Linked DNA regions of Homo sapiens: regions 1 and 2 are each linked to region 3. Evidence: promoter capture Hi-C in 16 types of primary human blood cells and fetal thymus (Javierre and others, 2016). All regions are on one chromosome and are shown on one strand. The core of a region is centred on a gene start or on the middle of the fragment in contact, and the rest is flanking DNA. Distances in the headings are between cores, read along the strand shown.

Region 1 (2,904 bases), core at 237-2,736, 180 kb before region 3:
TAAACAAAAAGTTACAAGTGAAGCCGTGATTTTTTATATTACATACATACTCTCACTTTGAATATATATCAATATTGAAGTTTTATTTTTTCTTTTATTTTCTTTTTTAATTATAGCAAATATTGCCTGATACAATATTCAAGTTTTTAATGTGATAAATGAGGATTGGATTCTTTTAATTTATCTCAGCTAGTTCAGATTAACAATAGTGTTATTTGCAGGGGATAACATATAAGCTTGTGTTTTCTTTTAATAACACTCACAATAGAGAAACCAGCCTCAGAGAGAGATGTTGGTTGGAAAGGAAGATAAGACATTTAAAGTAATTTTTTGGCCAAAATTTTTCTATGAGGCTTTGTTTTACAATCTGTAAAGTCTGGCTAACAAATGAACAATACAAATTTTATATCTCCAACTTAGATAATAATATTAAACTATAAATTTTTAAAAACTTGATTAGAATTAACTTGATGGTAAAAGTAACAAGTTAGAAAAATAAAGAAATGCTTGGGCAGGCGCAGTAGCTCACGCCTGTAATCCCAGCACTTTGGGAGGCCAAGACGGGCGGATCACCTGAGGTCAGGAGTTCGAGACCAGCCTGGCCAAAATGGCAAAACCCCGTCTCTACTAAAAATACAAAAATTAGCCGGGTCTGATGGTGGGCGCCTGTAATCCTAGCTACTCAGGAGGCTGAGGCAGGAGAATCGCTTGAACCCTGGAGGTGGAGGTTGCAGTGAGCAGAGATCGCGCCACTGTACTCCAGCCTGGGAAACAGGGCGAGACTCAGTCTCAAAAAAAAAAAAAAAAGAAAAAAAAGAAATGCTTACATTTGCTCAGATTTTTATATGCTTTTGACTTACGGTTGACAAACTAACCTTAAAATCTCATGGGTTGTAATGTGGTCCTCCTGCCTGTGGTCAGTTTGCTGCCTGTCCACCCAAAACTCACCATTAGAGTGCAATGACACTTGAATGGTCCACACCATTGGCATGTACTTGGACAACGTGGCAATGCAAATTGCTTGAAAAGTAACCATTTACTCTCAGTTTCTGTTCTTATTTCATCAGGGACAGTTTGTGGACTGGCATGAGCCATAGGCCACCCTTTAAGGAGGATGTCTATGGTAAAAGGCACTTTTCACTAGACCTAATAAACTTCCAGTTGCTAAATGAGGAAGTTTTTTTTTTTTTTTTTGACAGAGTCTTGCTTTGTTGCCCAGGCTGGAGTGCAGTGGCGAGATCTCAGCTCACTGCAACCTCCGCCTCCTGGGTTCAAGTGATTCTCCTGCCTCAGCCTCCTGAGTAGCTGGGACTACAGGTGCATGCCACCACACCTGCCTAATTTTTGTATTATTTTTAGTAGAGATGGGTTTCACCATGTTGGCCATGCTAGTCTTGAACTCCTGACCTCAAATGATCTGCCCACCTTGGCCTCCCAAAGTGCTGGGATTACAGGCATGAACCACTGTGCCCAGCCCAATGAGGAAACTTTTAAAAAATAATTTGTCATTTTTGCTTTTAGCAAATCACCCTCACGGCGCAGAGGAGTGGGAAGAAGGTGATGCCTTGGAATGGGCCCCTTCGGCTCCTGTCTTCCTCAGAACCATGCCGTCTCAGCTGTTTCCTGTTACCTGGTACCCGGTTCCAGGTAAACAGACTCCTTCACATCTGTGACCTCCACCAACAAGAATCCTCTACCTCACATCTGACCAAACCTGGCTGGTCCCTAAGAACCCTGCTGTGGGACAGATTCTTCCTCCACATGTTCCTGAGGGCTCTGGTCCTTTTTGCTATTGCAGCCTTTGGCGTGCTCCTCTTCCGTTATCCTCTTTCAAAACCCCTGCCCTGTTGAAGTTCACGTTTCCCAACTGCTACCCTCAACCTCCCTCCCTCAGCTTCTTGGAGGTTCCCTTAATTCTTTGCTATGTCAACTCTGAACTCTTTGTCCTTTTCACCATCTTAAGTCTTTCTGTCACCTGGACAACTTCAGCCACCCATGAAGGATGACCCATTTGGCTCTGGGCTCCCAGTTCCTCTACTTCCTCATCTCTTTTGGCCTTCATCACCCTTCCATTTCTGATGAGCTCTCCCAAAGCCATATCCTTGAACTTACCACCTGAAATCACTCAACTTCTGAAATTTAAAAATCAGTTACCCCACTCTTTCACCACAACCTCTTGGCACCTGGCTCTCTCAGTCAGAGCATTCCCCCTGTGTTCTTAGACCTCACAGAAACATCTAGTCCCCTGCCTCCTCTGCTTTTCTAATTTGCCATCAACTGTGCCCCCCCATCCCCACAATCTTCTTACTTTTTCTTCTATCCAGCCTAGACTGTGCCCTATAATTTCAATACTTTAGTTCCTAAGTTTTATGGTCCACTGTTGCACTCAATTCTGGATCATTCAACTGTTCACCTTCTTTTTTCCAGACCAAACCAGGACTGCTGGCTTCCAGTGAAAACAGTAAGTGTGACTGCCACAACCATGAGTGCCAAATTTATAGTTTCCCACCTCAGCCAGGCCTTCAATGAAGCCAGGTGATCCTATGTTTCTCCAGTCAGCTCTCTCTCGTTCTCTATGGGCACGATCTCAAACCTTCCTCATTCCTCACTTTCTGCTCCATCTCTCTCTCTCTCTCTCTCTCTCACTCTCACTCTCAACAAAATGTATTTGCCCTCTTTCCTAAAGAAAGCAGAAGCATCACACAGGAATTCTTCCAACTTTCTGGGATCAAGCCTGTAAGCTTGCTACGGGCTCACTCATTGCTTTCTCTGTCCTGTCTGCTGTAAAGGAGGTTGGGTTCTTCATCCCAATTCTGGCCCATTTCTCCACCAGTAACATGGATCTCAGCCCCTCCCTCCTCTTGTGGGGCCTTATTTCATCCATTATGCCCTCACTCACCTGTA
Region 2 (3,268 bases), core at 180-2,679, 140 kb before region 3:
CATCACCTTCCAAAGTCCCCACCTCCTAATACCATCACATTGGGGGTTAGGGCTTTGTACGAGAAAATCAAATCTCGGAAATCTCAAGATCCCCAAACTCATTATGTCAAGGGGAGAGTTAAGCCTAGAGACTGAGCCATGCAACACTGCCTTTCTTTTTCCTGAAACAAACATCTACAGAGAAGCAGACGGCTGAGGTGGGAATAGCTACAGGTGAGGGAACATAAAAGGTACATTAACAGAGATTGTGTCACTGTCACCTCAGGATGCTATAACAAAATACCACAGACTGGGTGGCTTAAACAACAGACACAACCCTGTGTTTTCATAGCTTTATACATAAGCCAGGTTCCCACAATGATGAACGGCCTTCCACCTCTCTGGATGGTCACCCTCACAAATTGCTCACAAGGGAATTCCTTGCAGGTCTCTAAATCATTCAAGACACATATCCCCCTGTAAAACAAGCACACACCAATTGTAACTTTAGGTCTGTAAGCCAAGTTTAACTCCTAAAACTGAGCTCTCTTCAATTTTATCCTGACAATGTCGTTTATAAGCTTATCTTCCCAGGTACAAATGAAATGGCTTGGCTGTGTCCCCATCCACATCTCATCTTGAATTCCCACATGTTGTTGGAGGGACCCAGTGGGGGGTAATTGAATTATGGGGGCAGGTCTTTCTCATGCTGTTCTTGTGATTGAGAATAAGTCTCATGAGATCTGATGGTTTTATAAGGTTGATTTTCCCTGCACAAGCTCTCCCTTTGCTTGCTGCCATCCATGTAAGATGTGACTTGCTCCTCCTTGCCTTCTGCCATGATTGTGAGGCCTCCCCAGCCATGTGTAAGTGCATTAAACCCTTTTTCCTGTATAAATTACCCAGTCTTGGGTATGTCTTTATCAGTAGGGTGAAAGTGGACTAATACACAAGGACAAGATAAGATCAATCACTTTTCTGCCTGCCCTGAGATGGCTGCATCATCAACTTTTTCCCATACTCCCTCTTTTCAGATGTTTACCTTATGTAGAGTGTAGATTATTTGAGCATCAATCAGAGCCTCAGAAGTAGATAGCTGTTTGCCTCACTGCCTACACCCTTCCCTTCTTTTCTCCTGCTTGCTCCTTCCCTTTAAATACTGAGTTTCCTGGAAAGGACAGGTTGCAGATGCTTCTGTGGCTTGTGTTTTTCCCAGGTGCATCCTCACACTTTGGCTCAATAAACCTGTACTGGGATTTAGACACTTGCCACAGTCACTCACTTTTTGGTTAACAGTTTCAACATATGAATTTGGGGAGACACAAACATTCCGCCCATAACAGAGTAAAACATCCCTGTAAATTAACATTTTATTTGTTCACTGGCATTTCTATAAGGTTGGTGGAATAAAGGAATCCTAAATCTGGGGTGGACCTTGAGGACCCTCTTGTTCAAGGGTCACAAATTCCAACACCACCCAAGGGAGTGAAGAGGGCTGTGGGTGAGAAGAGCAAGAGAAAAAGCACAGAGATCATGGGCAAGTGAAGCTATGGGTGGTGGTTAACCTCCTGGGGCACTCTAGGGGCCAGAGCAGAACGTGGGCCTCAGAGCCATCTCACCCTAGGGTGCGAAGGTGCGTGCATGTCTATACATCAACTCCACTCACTCACTGGCTAAGGGAAGCTCCTGGGGCATTCATTCCCTAGCACTTCTGGCCCACTGAGGATCCAGCCCCCAATGGAAGCCTTCAGAGAAGAGGTGCAGATGCTGGTGACCAGAAGCTGGGCCTGCAAGCACCATGATAGTGAGGCCCGAGGGAATATGAGTGGGGCAGCCACGGAGCCACTACACTCTCCTAACACTTTGCATGTACTCAATGTTAGCATTTACCATATTGTATCTTAATTTCCTACAATAGGGCTTGGGACATAGCTGCTCAATGAATATTTGTTGAATGAACTCTTCATCTGTATGAACGTCTCATCTGCCATCTGACATGCAGGAAAGCAGGAATTGTGATTTATTCACTCAAATGCAAGAATTGTGCTGGACACATGCTAAGTGACCAATAAATGTTCACCAAATTCAGCTGTTAGTTTCATCAGTTTAGTTGACTGGACTTACAAGATGGATAGCTATGAATTAAAAGCCATTTGCTGACCCTTGGTTGGATTGTGGACTCCCAATTAGCCACAGGAATTGTTCTTAGCACCATTTCATTTAGCCAGGGTTAGAAAAGCCACCAGAAATGGGAGATCACCTCGTGAATGGATGACAGGAATGAGAGGTCAGATCCCAGCTGATTGAGCTCTCTGCAGAAGAAGCTTTCCTTTTGCTTTTCAAACTAATATTGAAAAGCCAAAAGAGGAACCGTAGTTGCCAGGGAAACCAGCCACCAGTGTCCTCAGGCCTGTTGCTTAGTTCACTTTCTTTTGAGGAAGGTTTAGAAGAGGCCTCCATGGCTCTCCTTGGGAAGTGTTAGCAAACAGTGAGACTTGAAGTACTTGAAGGGCAGTCTGGGAGTCTTTGTGGTCCTGCTGATCCAGCTTCTCTCTGAAGCTGAGGTCCCCTCACAGCAGAGGGCAAGTCTGTGTCCTCTGGAATGGTCCCAGCCCCCAGCAGAGACATCTCCTACCTTACCAACCTGCCTGGTGCCTGCATGGTGGCCATGGGCCCTCCGTTGAACTAAGGCTTTGGGACACAGCTGTTCCAGGACAACCTTATCAGAAAAGGCTCATAGTTTTAAAATTTAAAATAAAATGGTTTGAATAAGTATTAAGTGCATATAATTCAAAATTTAAAAGGTGCAAAGGGGTATATAGTGAAAATCAATTTTTCCCCTCACTCTTCTTCCTCCACCATGCAGAGGCAAGGAGTGCTTTAGCGTTTAGTAAATTCTTCCAGATAAAGTCAATGCACATACAAGCACATCAATAAGTATCAAAGAAATACACACACACACACACACACACACACACACACAGTCTCCAAATGGAAGCATAAAATACAAAATGTTCTCTATTTTACTTTTTTCACTTAAAATATGTATTTGAGTTAGGTCAGTTTATACTGTTAGCATAATTCTACCTCAATATCTGTAAACTATTCCATTGTATGGGTGTACCTGAATTCATCTAGCCAGGGCCCTATTCATAGAAATTTAAGTAGCTTCCAATATTTTCCAATTATAACCAATGCTTCTTGAATATACATCATTCTGTACATGCACAAGTTTACCTATGGGATGAGTTTCTGGAAGTGGAACTGCTGAGTTAAAGCATATGTACAT
Region 3 (3,165 bases), core at 492-2,991:
TAGCTCTGCCTCCAAATTATGTCAGACAAAAATGTTCCTATGGGACAAAATTGCCCCCTGTTGAGAAATGTCTAACTTGGGCAAAAGTTAGAAATAAGTGTATTCATGAATTAGAAGAATCATACTTTCAAACGTTTGTTCAAACTCTCAAGCTGTATGATTAGTTGCAGACATGACCAGTACACCAAATACAGTATCTAGGAGGGCCTTGCATTTAAGAGCTCAGACTTGGGAATCAGATTGCCTGGGTCCAAGTTCCAGCTTTACCCCTCAGTGGCTGAGATATCAGTGATCCCAGCAGTAATCTTAGACAAATTGCTCAACCTCTTGATTCCTCAGTTTCCTCATCTGTAACACAGATTAAAACAGTACTTAATTAATTGTGTTGATTTGAAGAGTAAGTGAATTAAATATGCACAGCACTAGATTTTACTTGTATGGACATTTTTCTTAGCTCTGGTTGCACCCCTGCCCTTTTATACTGATGTATCAAACCTGTACATTGTGCACATGTACCCTGGAACTTAAATTATAATAATTAAAAAAAGTGAATCTCAATGCATGTTTCATTTCCCAACAGAGCAAACAACATTTTCTGGTAATGTCTGTCTTCCACAGGGCAGGCATCATCTCAACTCGTAGAAGGCATACTGAGTCCTCTCCTCCCCTCTCCCCCAGAAGCCAGTTCATCAGGTTCATCAGGGTGTGCCATCTACAGTTCTTCCAGAACCTATTCGCCTCTCATCTTTTCTGCCATCATCCTAATCCAGACCACCATCACCTCTAAGGTGGAGACTTTCTAACTACACTCCTCTACTACATACTCCTCTCTGTTCCCCTAAACCCACTGCCCACACAGCAGTTGGAAAGGCATTTTATAAAGCATGTGTCCAGTCACATCACTAATCTCCAGTGGATTCCCCTTGCACTTTGAATAAGGTCCCAACTCCTCAACCTGGCTGACAAGACTTTCTGATGCAGCCACTGAGCACCTCTCCAGTCTGAATTTACATCACTCTCTCCTTTGTTCACCTTCACTCTGCCATAGTCACCTTGCACATTTCTTTTCCTTGAATATGCCAATTTCATTCCCACCACAGGTCCTTTGCACCAGCCATTCCTTCTACCTGGAACATGACTGCCCTGACCACCACATACGAGCTCACTACCTCAAAGAAGATTCCTTGATCACTGCCCCATCAAAGAAGACGGTCTTTATTTTCTTCATACCATTAATCAATATCAGGAATTCCATTGCTCATTTATCTGTTCACTTGCTTATTTTCTCTCTCCCATACCTGAGTGTAAGCACCAGGAATGCAGAAACCTGGTCTGGTTTTTTCTCTTCATTATCCCCAGAACTCAGAACAGAACCTAATACAGAGTAGGTGCTCAATGAAACTTTGTTGAATGAATGAATGAACAAAAACCTCCTCTTCCCAACTGAACTGTCATCAAATAAGCAATAAGTGAATTTGCTGATGAGCTTCTCCTGCAGCTGGGTATTGTCATGCCCGTTACCCTCCTGCCCACCATATACCCGCCTACCAGTCCACCAGCCCTTCCAAAGGCTGGCTTTTGGTGCCTTTCCAAGGGGAGGGGAAGAACAGCCACTGCAGCAGCTTCGACGTGTGTTGCAGGGAAGTTGCTCCACCTACATTTGGTTCCTTGGGTTTTTCAGATGCTACTTCATTAATCATCCACTTGTCTGCACCCAAGAGTTCTCCATGACATGCTCTTCTAGAATCCTTTCTATGACATCAGTTGCTATGCACCAGGATATTCTGAAAAAGGGAGGGTCTGTCACTGTCACATTTGTATTAGTTTTCTATTGCTGCTGAAATACATTACCACAAATTTAGTGGCTTAAACAACACAATTTATTATCTTAAAGTTCTATAGCCCTGAAGTCAGAAATGGGTCTCACAGGCCTAAAATTAAGGTGTCAGCAGGGCTGTGCTCCTTCCCAAAGGCTTTAGAAGAGGATTCATTCCCTTGCTCATTGAGGTTGTTGGCAGAATAAAGTTTCTGCAGTCACAGGGCTGAGTTCCCTGTTTCCTTGCTGGCTGTCGGCTAAGGGCCATTCCCAGCTGCTAAGCACTGTCTGCATTTCTTAGCTCTGTTGCCTTCCTCTATCTTCAAAGCCAGCAAGGGTGAGTCAAACCCTCTCACACTTTGAATTTCTCTTGCCTCTTCTTCTGTCATTGTATCTTTCTGACCCTCTTTTCTTCCTCCCCTTCCCTGTCTAAGGACTCATGATTAGATTGGTCCAGCCGGACCATCCAGGATAACCTCTGCTTCTCAAAGTCTTTAACCTTAAACACATCTGCAAAGTCTCTTTTGCCATGCAAACTAACACATTCAGAGGTTCCAGGGGTGAGTGTTACCGAACAAAAGTGATTCAATGCATTGGAAGCCAACGCTATGACACTGGGTGTTTGAGAAAAGGCTTTTTATTGAAATATAAATATTTAATTTTAAATATATAATCAATATATTGTCGATTTTCAAGGAGACAGCAGTGTCAACCTCAAATCTGTCTCCTGTGATGCAGTATTTTTATTAGAAAAAGTTTAGGGGATTCTAAGATTAGTAGGTGATTTGGTGGAAGAAAGGGAAGGGCTGGAAAGTCCTGGGTCATATGCAGTTATCTCTTCATACTATTTTATGGGTCCCCTGGGCAATTATGGGGAAAGTTAGTATAAAGCACATGGTGGAAATTTAGTCTGTGACATCAGCAAGCTGGTTCTGCCTAGACTCTGGTCGGCCATCTTGGTTCCAGCTGATTTCAGCCAGTTCTTATATCTCATAAGCAGAGGGAGTTTCAGTATTTCAGCAAGTTGTTTCTTTTCTTACCTGCCATCCTGCAAACTCAAGAATTTCTGTTAGTCATTGGTTTTTTTAACTCTTTGGGGCATGGCTTCATTAGGACACCTTTGGGAGATCAGTATTCTGCCTGCTACAGCATTCTTCCGGGCCCTCATAGGACTGCCTTCTAGGTGGAACAGTGGGAGAAGCCCTTATGTAGCTTTCCTAGTCACCAGAGGGCCATGGTCAAAGACATCCTCTCTTGGGGCCTGGGCATCTTCATCTGTGACTTGAGGGCATCAGACTGGGTTATCTTTAAGGTCCTTTTCAGCTCCAAAAGTTAAGAGATATTGAGAT

What was found. Contacts are between HindIII fragments. The CHiCAGO score rates a contact against its expected background, and 5 or more counts as called.
Region 1: a fragment that was not itself captured here is called in contact with the fragment with the promoter of LYZL4 in region 3 in 1 of 17 cell types (naive CD4 T cells); the score reaches 5.2 in naive CD4 T cells.
Region 2: a fragment that was not itself captured here is called in contact with the fragment with the promoter of LYZL4 in region 3 in 2 of 17 cell types (naive CD8 T cells and M2 macrophages); the score reaches 5.8 in naive CD8 T cells.

The regions. Positions count from the first base shown.
Region 1 is chr3:42,232,457-42,235,360 of GRCh38, forward strand. No RefSeq gene overlaps it. Among named protein-coding and RNA genes, the nearest start is that of CCK, 32 kb to the right of the region's middle. The HindIII fragment of the contact is 2,505 bases long and covers 235-2,739 here.
Region 2 is chr3:42,271,188-42,274,455 of GRCh38, forward strand. No RefSeq gene overlaps it. Among named protein-coding and RNA genes, the nearest start is that of CCK, 6.6 kb to the left of the region's middle. The HindIII fragment of the contact is 1,743 bases long and covers 559-2,301 here.
Region 3 is chr3:42,408,869-42,412,033 of GRCh38, forward strand. It overlaps LYZL4 (lysozyme like 4), which reads right to left and starts at 1,742. Exons shown (of 5, transcript NM_144634.4): 1 at 1,549-1,742. The HindIII fragment of the contact is 15,012 bases long and covers 1-3,165 here.